2 separate regions of the Homo sapiens genome follow, and region 2 is linked to region 1. The links are contacts of gene promoters, found by promoter capture Hi-C in human tissues and cell types (Jung and others, 2019). All regions are on one chromosome and are shown on one strand. Each heading gives the region's core, a stretch centred on a gene start or on the middle of the fragment in contact. The rest is flanking DNA. Distances are from core to core; before and after follow the strand shown.

Evidence for each region. The method cuts DNA at HindIII sites, captures the fragments that hold promoters and counts their contacts. A contact is called where the count stands out against the background at its distance.
Region 2: a contact is called between a fragment that was not itself captured here and the fragment with the promoter of ABHD10 in region 1, in 1 of the 25 tissues and cell types used here (heart right ventricle).

What each region holds. Positions count from the first base shown.
Region 1 is chr3:111,977,694-111,980,411 of GRCh38, reverse strand. It overlaps ABHD10 (abhydrolase domain containing 10, depalmitoylase), which reads right to left and starts at 1,386. Exons shown (of 5, transcript NM_018394.4): 1 at 1,209-1,386. The coding sequence starts at 1,350. RefSeq lists enhancers at 1,147-1,196, 1,217-1,266, 1,277-1,326, 1,185-1,744. The HindIII fragment of the contact is 5,717 bases long and covers 1-2,718 here.
Region 2 is chr3:111,826,706-111,829,577 of GRCh38, reverse strand. All of the region lies in intron 2 of LOC105374040 (a long non-coding RNA gene), which reads left to right. It also overlaps a transcript of PHLDB2 not described here. Among named protein-coding and RNA genes, the nearest start is that of PHLDB2, 31 kb to the left of the region's middle. The HindIII fragment of the contact is 8,289 bases long and covers 1-2,872 here.

The sequences.
Region 1 (2,718 bases), core at 137-2,636:
TTTCCCCATTTTGTAATTAAGAAGTTGATTTTTTAAAGATGTAACTGAAGGCCTTAAAGTTATCCTTTTTACATAAAAGCTTGTTTCAAAGTATAGAGAAATATGCCAAATTTAAAACTTTTGGTAAGGACCAGTTATGCTGATCCACTCATGTTCATTTCCCATCTACTCAGCTGAGCACTAAAAAAAATTCTCACTATCCTCTTCCAGAAATCACCTCTTAAAACATAATTTCCCCGAGATGATTATAATTTATTTAATGTAAGTTCTAAGTAGACAGATTCATATAATTATATTCATAAATCATCTTTGAACATAAGGATTAATTCAAAGCCTGGTGCATAAGTGCTCAATGAATAAGTGCTAACTAGATGAAATAATATTATACTCTGGTTAATGAATTGACATACTACATTTTACTAGGAGTATTTGCATGTGTAACATGCCTTTTGGTTGCGCACAATTAAATGCAAGTTAATCTGATTATAAAAGTTTAAAAACTGGATACAAAAATCTCCATACAAAAGATCTCTGCCGTGACATTAATTACCACTCCAAGCACCATGCATCATCTGACAGCTACGTGGCAATGGTGTGAACCACACACAAAGCCAAAAAAATAAAAGGATCTAATTCAAAGACTATATATACATATAAGAGGTTCTCTGATTTTTAGCCCAAATTCTAGTTTCCTTTGTGCAATAATGATTATGGTTCTTTCACTGAGTGGGTGCAGCAAGAAAGCAGAACTAGAAATTAGGCTTATGAGGGCGTCTACACTTTTACAAAGAACATGCCTCGCATTGTTAGGTTCCCTAAACTCAAAGGAGAGTCAGTCTAAGCATTTTAGGAGTCACAATCTACAAATTCCTAGAAGTAACTAATAATAATGCATTAAATGCACATTTTAATTTTTTCTAGTGTTGGCCTTTAATGCAGGGGAGGCAGGTAAGGAGCAGGAGCTCTTTAAACTGCACAGTGTAAAACGCCAGCGAGGGCCCGGGGTGCCCAGAATGCCGCAGGGCCGCGGCAGAGCTCTCCTCACAGCCTTCACCAGAAGTCTACAAAGCGCCTAGAACTGGGGTGTTGAGAAAGGGGGAGGAGCATTTTTGAACCGGGCGCCAAAGACGCACTGCACAGGCACGGTAACTGACGGAACCCGAGGCGTTCGAAAGAACGCATCCTACTCCCGCCTTTCGGACACTGACCTGGGAGCCACCGTGGCGCCCGCTGAGGTATCCGTGCAAGCAGCACGCTGAGGCCACGGTGGGGACCGAAGGGGACGGCTGCCCAGCCCCAGCTCCGACAAGGTACCCAGGCCGCCACAGCTGCCAAGCGCGCAACCGCCATCTTCGTAGTTGTCCCCGCACCCTGCAGTGTCCCACTGAGGGACACGCTACGCAACGGAACCGAGGCTGCGCATGCGCTTCAGGCTGGAAGGCGGAACTTGCTAAAGAGCTCCCCGCAAGATTTTCAGCTTGCGAAGAGCGCACATGCGCAGAGCGTCGTGGCTCTTTCGTTTAGACTGTTGGTTCTACTAGTAGCGGGGTTTGGCTTGGGGCCTTTAAGATGTTTTGAGTGGCGTCGGGAGGCTGCCCTATCAGCGGGCTGATAGATACTACAGAGCTGGAAGCTCAGAAAGGAACCCTATCCAACGGTCCTAGATGGGAAACGTCTCCTGTCGAGGACACCAGGCTTGCTGCATCACCTGCAATCCCGCCGACCGCGTGACAGTTTTAACCTGTACTGGAAATGCTCCCAAGATCTGACATTAATCTCGCCTGTATAACCTGGAATGGTATCGGACATTCCCCGCTCTAGATCTATATGCCTGATTAACGAAATACTGAATTATCTTGGCCCCCTCCTCGTGCTATATGCGAAAATAAATTTCAGTAAAAAAAGATTTCAACGGAAGAATACAACTGAGAGGATTAAATAAATTTTAGGAGAATATTATATAATCCGGGGACAGAAGGGACTTTCTTAACCAAGATTTCAAAACCCCAACATCATAAATAAAAAATATATTTGTATACGAATTTAAACTTTTTGAATGGCAAAAGACACCTCAAGTTAAGAGCTTAGAAAAATGGATTTTGTAGCATAGATACATTAATACTTCTACTCAGCCTGCTCCTATAAATAAGAAATATAATTCAAATAAAATTGGCCAACAGCTATAAATAGGCAGCCCATATAAGGAAACATGATGCTCAAACTCACTAAATGAAAAACTGGAATTAAAAAAATAATGCCTTTTTCCCCCCATTCAGTTGGCAAAAAAGAAAAATAATTGGCAAGGATGCTAGACACTAGCACTTATGTATGATTGCTAGGAAGGTGAATTACTAAAATTTGTTGTGAAGTAATATGGCCACATCTATTACAATTTTAAAATATGCATCCATTCCAGTGCCTTTTAACGCAGTGGCACCAATTTGTGATTATCCTATAGAAAAACAACACTAGTTCTTAAGACTGCATATTATCTACTACACCGTTTTTAGAGGCAAAGAGAAGGAAAAAAATGGGAATGGCTAACAATAGAAAAATAGTTGAATAAATTGTAGTACAAGGGTTTCCGGACTCCAGCTCTAAATACCTTTCAAACTAATTCCTGGGGGCCTCAAGCATCAACCATGGAGTTTTACGTAGTAGTTTCCTATTTAAAAGTTATGGTGGCTTGTGTAATACTTTGAGTATATATAAGATAGT
Region 2 (2,872 bases), core at 316-2,815, 150 kb after region 1:
GAAGGAGAATCGCTTGAACCCAGGAGGCAGAGGTTGCAGTGAGCTGAGATCATACCACTGTACTCCAGCCTGGTAATAGCAAGACTCAATCTCAAAAAAAAAAAAAAACCAAAAAAAAAGAAAAAGAAAAAGAAAAAGAAATATCAGATGTTAGGACTTTTTTTTTTTTTTTAAACAAAAGAATAATGGAAGAACCAGGAATCCAGGATGGGAGAGTTGAGTGAGCATGATACCTTCCTTTAGGGAGGAGAAACAATCCATTGGCTAGTTTGAGTTGTTTTTCAGTCATAGTGATGGATTTGAACAATCCATCCAACTCTTTCACCCAGTTCTTCTCTTTAGTAATTGCATGCCTTTGCGAGATGGGGCAATGTGGGAGAGATGTGGGAAGATAAATGGCCCTTCAGAGGTTTCCATGACTTTTTAGAATTTTAGTGTGTTGGCTCTAATTAATGCTGTCAATAGGAGAAGGGAAATGTCTAAAACTCTGGGTGAACAGTCACTTAGCTACTCAGAAAAACATTTGGAAATTAGAAAAAACATTGTCAACATTTATATGTGTTCCTTTTGATCTAACAAGCGTCTATATTCCCTTTCCTCTAAGAGAAAAGATCCAGTAGGTTTGGCTGGTTGGCTAATACCAGAGGACCACTGTGATGTCTTCATATTTATACTACACAGTGTGTGGCATTTGGCAGGGACTCAATAGATGTTTTCTAGGTTTCATTAAATTGACTGAGTCAAGTGGAAGGTATAATCTTTTTTGTTTGTTTGTTTGTTTGTTCATTTTGTTTTTGAGACAGATCTCACTCTGTCGCCCAGGCTGGAGTGCTGTGGCGCAATCTTGGCTAGTCACTGCATCCTCTGCCTCCAGGCTCAAATGATTCTTCCACATTCACCTCCTGAGCAACTGGAACTACCAGTGCACACCACCACACCCGGCTAATTTTTGTAGAGACAGGGTCTCCCTGTGTTGTCAGTCTGGTCTCGAACTCCTGGGCTCAAACGATCCGCCAGCCTCAACCTCCCAAAGTGCTGGGATTACAGGCGTGAACCACTGTGCCTGGCCACAGTCTTTTAAAAGCCAAAACTATTTAAAAATATTCATAAAATGTTTATTAAGTATGTCATTCAATATGTGTTCATAGATTACCTGAGCAGGGGAAATTAGATAGGGGAAATCAAAAGATGATCCATTGACAGATAGACTGGAAGTTCCCTGTCACTGGTAGGAAGCATTACCAGCATCTAAATCAATCAGTGCACAGGAGGATATTGGGGCTGGGGCAGGGCAACTTCAGCTGCCTCTGTGTTTACAAAGCAGTTGGACTTCAGTTGCTATAACTCTCTTGGCCTTTCTCTCCCAGTTGGTTCACTCTGCCCCAGAAGAGAAGGGGAAACTCTTCCATGGGAGCATTTGGGAAATACACTGGTTCTGTGTAGTTGAGAGCTAGCTGACCTCAGGAGCTACAGTGGCTGAGCTCCTTTGTGGTCTGGTTTACAGAGGCAGGCCCCTATGGGGAGGTGCACTGTGAATAGCTGTTAGTCTACCTAATTTTGGAATGCAGTTTTAGGAAGTCCTCTGTTGCACTGCACGTAAGCTATACCCTCCTTTGTCAGCTTTATAGTAATGAAGGTGACATTTTTATCTCCTTCTGCCAGACTTCCATGTCTATCTTTTCATTGTTTTCATTTGGAAATATGTACTGAGCCCTTAGACTGTGCCAAGCACTCTAGTAAGCCCTGAGACTCTACCTACAGAAGCTCACAGTGTAGCATATTTATAATGCAGTTGAACAAGTGGGTGAGCATGAAGCTTCCCAGGAAGAAACAGTCTGAACCGAGTTGCTCAGTTTTTGGTCTTTCCTTTTTTTTTTTTTTTTTTTTTTTTTGAGACGGATTCTCGTCTCGCTCTGTCGCTCAGGCCGGCGTGCAATGGCACAATCTCCAATCTCGGCTCACTGCAAGCTCCGCCTCCCGGGTTGACGCCATTCTCCGCCTCAGCCTCCCGAGTAGCTGGGACTACAGGCGCCTGCCACAACACCCGGCTAATTTTTTGTATTTTTAGTAGAGATGGGGTTTCACCGTGTTAGCTAGGATGGTATCTATCTCCTGACCTCGTGATCCGCCCACCTGGGCCTCCCAAAGTGCTGGGATTACAGGCGTGAGCTACCGCGCCCGGCCTGGTCTTTCCTTAACCGAGTCATAACAGAGTGGGATTTGGCCAGAAGGTAGTCGGGTGTGGTAAGAGCTTAGGCTGCAGAGGCAGTAGGAGCTCAGTTCTGAAAGGCTCTCCTTAAAAGCCATACTAAGGGCCCTGGATTTTGCCTGGTAGGCAACAGACAGCTGGTTAAAAGGTTAGAGGAAGGATGTGGTCACATTTCTGTCTTAAATAAGTCAGTTTGATAGGTTGGAGGATCAATTTGAACAGGACAAGCCTAAAGAGACTAGTTTGCAGGTTGTTCTAGGTGAGAAATTATAAGGAAGTGACTTAGTAGCACCTCTGTTTTTTGTTTGTTTTTCCTTTCCTTTTTTCTCTTGGACATTGTGACATGAGCTAATGCACAAAAAGCATTTGCGTTTAACTGCAGTTCATAGCAAGAACTCAATAAATGTCGGCCATCATCATTTTCTTTTTCTAAATCATCACGTCATTTCCATCATCATCATCAGCAGAGGCAGTAATTTCTCCCTTACTACTCATCCTAAATAATGAGCAGCCTCCTAGAGGCAGGCTGCTCCCAGAAGAAGAGAGCCATAGAACCTTCTCTCAGACGGCTCTGGTTCAGCTGATCAAACCACTCCCTGCACCCACTCCCACGCCACCACCACATGACTACACCTCCCCTGGCAGAATTGCCAAAGATCCTGC